3 separate regions of the Homo sapiens genome follow, and all the other regions are linked to region 3. The links are contacts of gene promoters, found by promoter capture Hi-C in human tissues and cell types (Jung and others, 2019). All regions are on one chromosome and are shown on one strand. The core of a region is centred on a gene start or on the middle of the fragment in contact, and the rest is flanking DNA. Distances in the headings are between cores, read along the strand shown.

Region 1 (3,164 bases), core at 430-2,929, 38 kb after region 3:
CATGCCATTCTCCTGCCTCAGCCTCCCGAATAGCTGGGACTACAGGCAGGTGCCACCATGCCCAGCTAATTTTTTTGTATTTTTAGTAGAGATGGGGTTTCACCGTGTTAGCCAGGATGATCTCAATCTCCTGACTTCGTGATCCGCCTGCCTCAGCCTCCCAAAGTGCTGGGATTACAGGCGTGAGCCACCACACCTGGCCGATTCTGAATAGTTTTTTATATAATATGAGTACAAATCTTTTATTCAGTTGTAAATAATTTTCCCTCTTATGTGGCTTGTCTTTTCATTTAGTAGATGGTAATTTGTTGTACAGAAGATTATAATTTTAAGTCAATCAAATTGATTGCTCTTTTGTAGCTTACATTTTCAATATTTTTTAAAAATTTATTCCCTACACAAAAGGCATAAAGATAAATCTATATTTTCTTCTAAAAGTTTTAAAGTTTTGCTTTTGAAACATTTAGGTGTCTACTTCACCTGAAATTTATTTTTGTGAATGTTATGAGGTAGATATCTAATTTTATTTTTTTCCATATGGATACCCAATTGTCGCTGCCTCATTTATTTAGAAGTCCATCCTTTCCCCGTTGGTTTAAGAATGCCATCTCTGTTGTTTATCAGGTTTCCACGTATATGTGGCTCTGTTTCTGGGTTCTCTAATCTGTTCTGCTTGATTGTCTATCCCTGTATGAATACCACACTCTTAACTACAATGGTTTTATAACAAGTCTTCATATTTGATAGGGCAAAACTCCCTTCCTCTGTCATAGCTGGCTTTGGCTGTTTGCATTTCCGTATTATTCTATAATCAGCTTGTCAAGCTTTTTGTTTCTTAGGAGTCTCGCTGTCATCCAGGCTGGAGTGCAATGGTGCAATCTCAGCTCACTGCAACCTCTACCTCCCTGGTTCAAGCGATTCTCCTGCCTCAGTTTCCCAAGTAGCTGGGGCTACAGGCATCCACCACCATGCCCAGCTAATTTTTGTATTTTTTAGTAGAGATGGGGTTTCACTATATGTTCACCAGGCTGGTCTGGAACTCGTGATCTCAAGTGATCCAACCACCTCGGGCCTCCCAAAGTGCTGGGATTACAGGTGTGAGCCAACACGCCCGTCCTGTTTCTTAGCTTCTTACAACTGTGTTGAAGTATAATTGATGGACAAAAACTGCACATTTTAACATGCACAATTTGATAAGTTTTGACATTAATATATATCTATAAAATCATAAGCACAATCATGTAAATGACCATACCTCTGGCAGACAGACTATAAAAGGGCCCCCAGTTGTCCCCCCTCCACCTGGTATCCATGCCCTGTGAACCCCATTGTGTGGGCAGGACCCACAGCTTTTTTCTAACCAAAAGAATAAATCGCTGCTGTGATTGTTTTATGTAAGAGTGCAATTTCCATCTTGCCAGTAGACTCTCTCCCTTGCTGCCTTTGATGAAGCAAGCTGCATGCTGTGAGCTGCCCTATGGGGATGCCCACATGGCAAAGAAGTGAGCGTGGCCCCTGGCCAATAGCCAGTGAGAAACTGAGGCTCTCAGTCCAATAACCCATAAGGAACTGCACCCTGCCAATCATCATGTGACCTTAGAAGCAGATCCTTCCCCAGGAAAGCGCTGAGATGAGTCTGCAGCCTTGTGAGGAACCCTAGAGCAGAGCACCCAGCTAAGCCATGCCTAGATTGCTGACCCCTAGTAATTGTGAGATGACAATTGTGTGTTGTTTTAAACAAATTTGTAGTAATCTGTTATGCAGCAATAAAAAACTAGTACAATATCCATTATTCCCAAAAGTTTTATTATGCCTCTTTGTAATCCACCACACCTTTTCCTCCCCAACTCCATCTCCAGGCAACTACTTGTCTGTTTTCTGCTACTATAATTTAATCATCTGGAATTTTACATAAATGGACTCAAACAGTATTTACTTTTTAAAAAAATTAATTTTACTTTATGTTCCAGATACATGTGCAGAATGTGCAGGTTTGTTACATAGGTATACATGTGCCATGGTGGTTTGCTGCACCCATCAACCCATCATCTAGGTTTTAAGCTGACATGCATTAGGTATTTGTCCTAATGCTCTCCCTCCCCTTGGCCCCCACCCCCCGACAGGCCCCAGTGTGTGTTTTTCCCCTCCCTGTATCCATGTGTTCTCATTGTTCAACTCCCACTTATGAATGAGAACATGCGGTGCTTGGTTTTCTGTTCCTGTGTTAGTTTGCTGAGAATGATGGCTTCCAGCTTCATCCATGTCCCTGCAAAGGACATGAACTCATCCTTTTTACGGCTGCATAGTATTCCATGGTGTATATGTGCCATGTTTTCTTTATCCAGTCTATCATTGATGGGCATTTGGGTTGGTTCCAAGTCTTTGCTGTTGTAAATAGTGCTGCAATAAACATACGTGTGCATGTGTCTTTACAGTAGAATGATTTATAATCTTTTGGGTATATAGCCAGTAATGGGATGGCTGGGTCAAATGGTATTTCTGGTTCTAGGGTGTGTGGTAGTATCTCTTTGTGATTTTAAATGCATTCGCCTATTGGCTGATGATACTGAGCATCTTCTCATGTGCTTATTTGCCATCCATACATCTTCTTTGGTGAACTGTCTCTTCAAATCTTTTCCCATCTTTTAATTGAGTTGTTTGTCTTCTTATTGAGTTTTAAGGCTTCTTTATACTTTCTAGATACAAGTCTTTTGTTTAATATATGTTTTGCAAATCTTTTCTCCCAGTCTACGGCTTGCTTTTTATTTTTGTAACAATATCATTCCAAGAGCAGAAATTTTAAATTTTCCTCTTAACAGAATAATGCTCCACCCTCAAAGATTTCTACAACCTAATCTCTGGGACTTGTGAATATATTACCTTTCATGGCAAAGAGGAATTAAGGTTGCAGATGGAATTAAGATTGTTAATCTGCTGACCTTAAAATAGAAAGATTATCCTGGATGATCTGGGTGGGCCGAAAGTAGTCACAAATGTCCTGAAAAACAAAAGAAGAAGGAGGAAGAGGAGGTCAGAATGATGCAATATGAGAAGGGCTCAACTAGCCATTGTTGGCTTTGAAGAGGAAGGAAGAGGGTCACAGCCAAGGAATGTACGAAGCCTATAGAAACTGGAAAAGGCAAGGACATAGATTCTCCCCTACA
Region 2 (3,354 bases), core at 697-3,196, 56 kb before region 3:
TGTGAGCCACTGCGCCTGGCCGAGCCGCTTTTTTTAAGCCTGGCAGGTCAGGCTGGAAGATCGTGGTGGTGGTCTTCCTGGACTTATGCAATGTTTTTACATAAGGATATTGACTTACAATAGATTCTGCTGAATTCAAAAAATAGGGGACACAGAGTTGTTCTCTTTCTAGGAGCTTACCCATTCCCACTAAGATAATCATTCTGTTACATGTTTGGGAGCTCAATCGTCTCAAAGCCCTCTTAGACATACCTCATAACCTTCCTGTCTCCATTCACCTCATGAGTTTTTGCCATGGGTTCCACCTTGCTTCTACACAACTCTAATGCTTCAGGGAGGCAGCTGAAACCACCTGGGGCCACCTGACTATTTGACCGAGCGAGGCTCAACCCCTGACCTCAGAGAGTTCCTGAGCCAAGAGGGAAGGAAGGAAACCCTGAAATAAGGATAGAAAGAAATGTAGAGATGATATTGATTGTTACTATCCCAGCCATTATCCTGATTACTTCTGTTGTCGTTATGGGCTCTTATGAAAGGTAAACCCAATTGAGGAAGATACTAAATGCCAACTGAGAACAACTTCAGACTCTTTGGCTCCAGTATTCCAACATAGGGATTCATATCATAAATTTCTTCTTGAGGAATGTGTGGATGTAGCGGGCTGGTGGGGGTGGGTTTTAACAGGCTAACTTGAATGCTTTTTTATATTTCACAATGAAAACTATATAATGCAGGTATTTCCCTTTTTACCTTGGCTTCCTGGAAGTTCAAAGATAAATTTAGGTGTCAAAGAAGTATCTGATTCAAACAAGTTTGTAAATATCTATCTTTCTCTTTCTTCCTCCTACTACCAATTCGTTTCTGATCTTTAATATAATATAAACACACACATAAAATCATCCTCTATGTGGTTTAATATTTTAAGCTGTCTCAAATTCTTCTTGGAAGTAAGCAAAGTATAAATTATAAGTAATAATAGTTAACATGTACTGACCACTATTATGTGCCAGACACTATTCTAAGTATTGTAAACTCATTTGATTCTCCCAACAACTCTAAGAGGTAAGAATTACTATTAATCTCATTTTATAGATAAAGAAATTAAGGCACAGAAAGCTTCAATAACTTGCCTAAGGTAGCACAGCTAGGATTTGAACCTAAGCAGTGTGGCTTTAAGGGATGTGCTCTGCCCATCGCACTAGAACAAATCCGTCAGTTCAAAAACTTAATTAGCCCATCCAGGGACACCAATGTAAAAAAGCATAATTATATGCCATCGGAGCCAGTCATCATCAAAACAAGACTGATATAAGGCCAGGTGCCTATAATCCCAACACTTTGGGACGCCGAGGTGGGCAGATCCCTTGAGGTCAGGAGTTTGAGACGAGCCTGGCCAACATGGAGAAACCCCGTCTCTACTAAAAATAACAAAAATTAGCCAGGTGTGGTGGCGCACAGCTGTAATCCCAGCTACCCAGGAAGCTGAGGCAGGAGAATAGCTTGAACACGGGAGATGGAGGTTGCTGTGAGCCGAGACCATGCCACTATACTCCAGCCTAAGCAACAGAGTGAGATCCTGTCTCAAAAAAAAAGACTAATATATCATAACAAGCAGCTCAGGCCACCCATTCTTAATCTAAATAAAGATTCCTTTCCACTCCTCCCCAACCTTATTCTTAGTGGAAGGGATGGAGGAAGTAGGATTTAGAATCCTTTCCCACCCTTCCCTAGCCCACTCTCACCCCACTACCCCAGCCCCCTTTTTAGAGACTTTCCTGACATGTCCATTGCCCTATATGTTCCTTACTTTTTTCTTCAATAATGTGGGAAAAATAATGTTTTCACTCCTTCTGTATCACTTGCACGGAGATAATTAGTCAGCTTTTTGATGGACAAAGAGCTGAACAGAGAGAATTTCAGGCAGAGCAAATAATATGAGTAAAGGTACAATAAGCTGGGCACTCAGCTACTCAGGAGGCTGAGGGAGGATGATCACTCGAGGTGAGGAGTTTGATGCTGTAGGGAGCTATGTTCATGCCTGTGAGTAAGCACAGCACTCCAGAGCCTGGGCAACATGGCAAGACCTCACTGTTGAAACTACAAAGGCACAATGGTATGAAAGTGCAAAGTATGTATTTGAGAAACACTGAGAATGGGTTAATTGAGCTTTGAGGTTGGGCCAGATTGTAAAGGCCTTGAAGGCCAAACCAAGAATTAAACTTTCAACTGTAGGGAGCCTTCAGAGCTTTTAAACATGAAAGAGACAAGACAGACCTGTAGTTTAGGAGCTCTGACAGCAGAGTATGGACTGAGGAAAGGGCAGGAAGGGAAGCACTTCAGGCAAAGAGACCACTTAGGGAACTGTTGAAACTATCCAAGAACGATCTAACAGTTGGTGGCTTCAGTGATGCTGAGTAGAAGGTATTTCAAGAGGATAACTGACAGGACTGGGCCAGTAATTGGATATGGGATCCGCTCAGGAAGTAGGGCTCCAGGATATCTTGTCACCTCATCAGGAAAATCCTCTCTTGCTGGCAGGTGATCACGTATTCCACTAGGACCCAAGGAGTCATCAATGTGAACCATAGATGACAGATTAAGAGGCAGGGTGGGTCTCCTAGCCCAATACTCTTTTGTTACATATAAGCAAACTAAGGCTCAGGGAACTCCAACCATCTCTCCCTTTCTCCTAGCTCCTTCCTCCAAACCACACGGATCCCTGGACCTGAACCCATGGTGCAGTAGAGAAGTACCTCAGGCCCAGAGCCAGGAGGCCACAGGTGAGAAGCTGCAGTACCTCTTCTTTAGACTTTTTCTTGTGTCCTCCTTTCTGAATCTGTCTTCCTCTTCCCTTCAGCCCCCATCCCCCAGGTGGTCTCTGGCTGTCACAGCTGTGATGCCAGCTTCCTGCTTGCCCCAGACACTCAGCCCCAGGAGGCCCAGCCCCATTACGGCTCTGCCAAAACAACATCTGGGGAAGCTCCAATAGGTTCAGGGCCTCTTCTCTTGTTTTTTGTCTGGAGATAAAGGGGGTTTATCCTGGGCCCCTGGGAGTGAGGATGAGGAGGGTTTACAACATGTCTGTCTTCTAAATTTGGGAAAGAGGCAATAAATTCAGCTTCAGATCTGCTTCTGTCCCAAGTCCATGTGTTCCCCTGTGAGTTTCTGGCACTTTCAGTCACACCTTCTCGTACCATAGGAGAAGGCCTAGAGGGAGAAGGTGTGGGAGGTCACATTCTTGGGGGGCCTCCAGGATAACAGACTTTTAGCAGATCGTTCCCATCCTTTTGCTCCTGATACACCGAGGGAGTCGCAGAAACAAAAACACATCACTAGGGACCTTTCCAGCCATAT
Region 3 (3,149 bases), core at 313-2,812:
GGCATCTTCCTGAGTGTCACCCTTGGACAGAGAAACCTTAGAATCTTTCTTGGCCTGGAAGAGTCACATACAGCCCTCACATTGCTGTTGGGCCTACTGGGGTTGGCAACTGTAAACAGAAGAAAGAAAGGAGTATAAAAGCCAACATCATCAGATCCAGTGAACTGATGGGAAAGACCCCAACTATGACACTCAACAGAGTTACCTCCTGACCACCATCCATCCCAGACCTCTCTGTCCCCTCAAAACAGTTTCCTTGGGCCCACTTCATCCCATCAGTTCCTAGGTTGCAGAGGAGCAGGCACCCTGGCTCATCCACAGGCAGCCTCAGGCCTCAGACAAAGAGCCACAGTGTTTTGGAGAAGCTGACCCAACTGCCCACTGCCTGGGCAAGCTGGCTGGTTCCTGGCTCTGGCCAGGAGAGAAGACGAATGGAGCGGCCCACTGCCAACAGAGCATTTTTCCATGCACAGCCCTGGGCTGTTGCAGGACCAAGGTGGCTGTCTGGAGGGCTGGCACAGTGAGCCTCTGTCTCCGTTTCTCCTTCTTTCAGACTGGGCACCTTGGCAGACAAGAGCCACCTTCCCCTTCAGACTCAGCTTTCTAGGGGCTGTGCACCCTGCCCACTTCAGCCTCTTCTTAGAGCCATGGGTGCTGAAAGGGTTTGATGGGGAGCTTATGCCTCTCCTTACCCCATCCCATCTCTTAGCAATGTTGCTTCAGGGTTGCATAGTCTTACACTGTTTCCCATAATGCTAGAGGCCCTCCTGTGCTCAGAGTTTCTGTAAGGTCGAAAGTTTCCAGGACTGCCACACTATCAGCTGGGGGAAGTTTACTCAGGAGCTACTGCTGTTCTTTCATTTCTCCACTCTAGAGAAAGATCTCTCCCTCCTATCAGTGGAGAAGGTCAAGCCAGAGGCCATCCCCTCACCTGGATTGCATCCCCACCCCAATCCACAGCTCCCTGGACATGGCCAGTTCTCAATGCTTCTTTTTATTCTCTCCTTTCCACTCCAAACACACACACACACACACACACACACACATTCTACACAAAAGTTTCCCCCTCTCCCATAATAGCATTTATGTACCAAACCCCTCTATAAGAGAGATTGCAGGGACATCCAGGTCTTGGAATACCCTTCAAAATGCCCACACTCCCAGCATGATGGGATTTATGAGTAGCAGGGAAGAAGCTTCCCTAGACAGAGGGTCCTTCACTTTTTCATGCCTGAGAATTGGAGGTCCCCTCAGCACCCATAAAGGAACTGTAAGAGAAAGGTACAGGGCTGGAACCCCTCCCTTATACACCCTCTCTGCCACTCTCCAGCATCCCTGGGGTCATGGCCCAGATGTGGAGAAGGAGGAATGAACCCTCCCTGCCTCCCCATCTCCCCTATCCCCTACCACTTTTCCTTTATTTCTTTTAAGGAACTGCTAGGGACAAACCCGAAGTAAAACGACTATACTTACCTCAAGTTGAACTTTTCAGAGAGTGACCACGTCCCTCTGTCTGGCCTCCTTGGGTTGGAGAACGTGTGAGAGAGGAAGAGAGAGAGGAGTGAAAGAGTCTACTGAGAGTGTGCGTGCCTGTGCCAGACCAGGGTCCCGCCCCAAATTCCTAATCAAATATTGTGAAAAGGGGCTGAGGAACCCGGATCCTGGTTTTTTTCAGCTCTGCTGCAGGGGCGGAGTTCACGCTCAACCACGCAAATCCTTCGGTCCGCCTGACGCTATAAAAACCACCTTTTTTCCACTCACTTATCTTCCCTGAAACATTGGCAGCCCTGGGTCCCTTTCTGCTGAATGAGTTAGTGGCGCCCTAGAAGTTATTTGTACAGTCTCTTATGAAGCGCCTGGATTTCTCATTAAAGCCACAAAGGCAGATGCAGGGATGGGGAGGGCCAGGGTTTGGTAAGAGACATCTTAACTCCTTCAGCAACCCACATGTCCCTCCAGAGAGCGAGAACTCGCGCTTCTCAGCTCCCCCTATAGACAGGTCATCAGGCTAGTGGATAAGGGAGCATGAATGACAAGGGACAGCCGGCTCTGGTTCCAGTTCTATCCCTAAGCAGTGTAGACTTTTCTAGGCTACAGGTCCTGCCCACCTCCACCACTGGAACAAAAGGAAAGGCAGGGACTCCAGCATTTGCTGATCACTGCTTATGCACTAGCATCATCCACTTCCACTTAATGCTCACAACAAATTCAGAGTTAATAACACTTACCTTGCTGGGTTGTAGCAAGGACTGTATCAGGTGATGTGTGGGAGGCTCCTGACCTGGCACATAGCTGAGGTTCACTGTGTCCTACCCATTTCACAGCCATAGAATTCCTCAGCCAGGGAAAGACAAGATCAGAAAGCTGGGCAGGAGCTGTACCATGAAAGGACTTTTGGGCGATGGAAGTGATTTGGTTTTTATTCTAAATGTTTTTGTTGTTGTTGTTGTTGTTTGTTTGTTTGAGAAGGAGTCTCAGCTGGGCGTGGTGGCTCATGCCTGTAATCCCAGCACTTTGGGAGGCCGAGGCAGGAGGATCATGAGGTCAGGAGATCGAAAAGGAGTCTCGCTGTGTCGCCCAGGCTGGAGTGCAGTGGCACAATCTCTGCTTTCTGCAACCTCCGCCTCCCAGGTTCAAGCCGTTCTCCTGCCTCAGCCTCCTGGGTAGCTGGGACTACAGGCACACGCCACCACGCCCAGCTAATTTTTTGTATTTTTAGTAGAGACAGGGTTTCATCATATTGGTCAGGCTGGTCTTGAACTCCTAAACACAGGTGATCCACCCACCTCAGTGCCCCAAAGTGCTGGGATTACAGGCGTGCGTCATCCGGTCCGGCCTATTCTAAATGTTTAAAAAAAAAAACATGTTTCAAGCAGGAGAAGCCATGGGATCTGATTTGCATGGGATCTAATTTACATTTTAAAAGCATGTAGGAGGGGCTGCTGTATGGAGAAGGGGAGGCCAGGGTGGAAGCAGGGAGGCTCCAACCCAGCCTCAAGGAGAGGTAATGGCAGATTGGACTGGTGCAATGGAAGAGAAGATCTTATATTTTAGACAGAGAACTGACAAGTCTTGCAGAGTTAGGAAAAGTCAAGGATGATTCCTAGAATTTTAGTTTGAGCAACTGGGTAGGTGGTGGTAACATTTCT

Evidence for each region. Contacts are between HindIII fragments. The study calls those that stand out against the background at their distance.
Region 1: a contact is called between a fragment that was not itself captured here and the fragment with the promoter of FMOD in region 3, in 1 of the 25 tissues and cell types used here (liver).
Region 2: a fragment that was not itself captured here is called in contact with the fragment with the promoter of FMOD in region 3 in 1 of the 25 tissues and cell types used here (IMR-90 fibroblasts).

The regions. Positions count from the first base shown.
Region 1 is chr1:203,387,423-203,390,586 of GRCh38, forward strand. The region is part of intron 5 of LOC102723529 (a long non-coding RNA gene); the gene reads left to right. Among named protein-coding and RNA genes, the nearest start is that of BMNCR, 19 kb to the right of the region's middle. The HindIII fragment of the contact is 6,096 bases long and covers 1-3,164 here.
Region 2 is chr1:203,293,083-203,296,436 of GRCh38, forward strand. No RefSeq gene overlaps it. Among named protein-coding and RNA genes, the nearest start is that of LINC01353, 7.6 kb to the left of the region's middle. RefSeq lists an enhancer at 3,277-3,354. The HindIII fragment of the contact is 5,946 bases long and covers 1-3,354 here.
Region 3 is chr1:203,349,560-203,352,708 of GRCh38, forward strand. It overlaps FMOD (fibromodulin), which reads right to left and starts at 1,563. Exons shown (of 3, transcript NM_002023.5): 1 at 1,474-1,563. The HindIII fragment of the contact is 7,092 bases long and covers 1-3,149 here.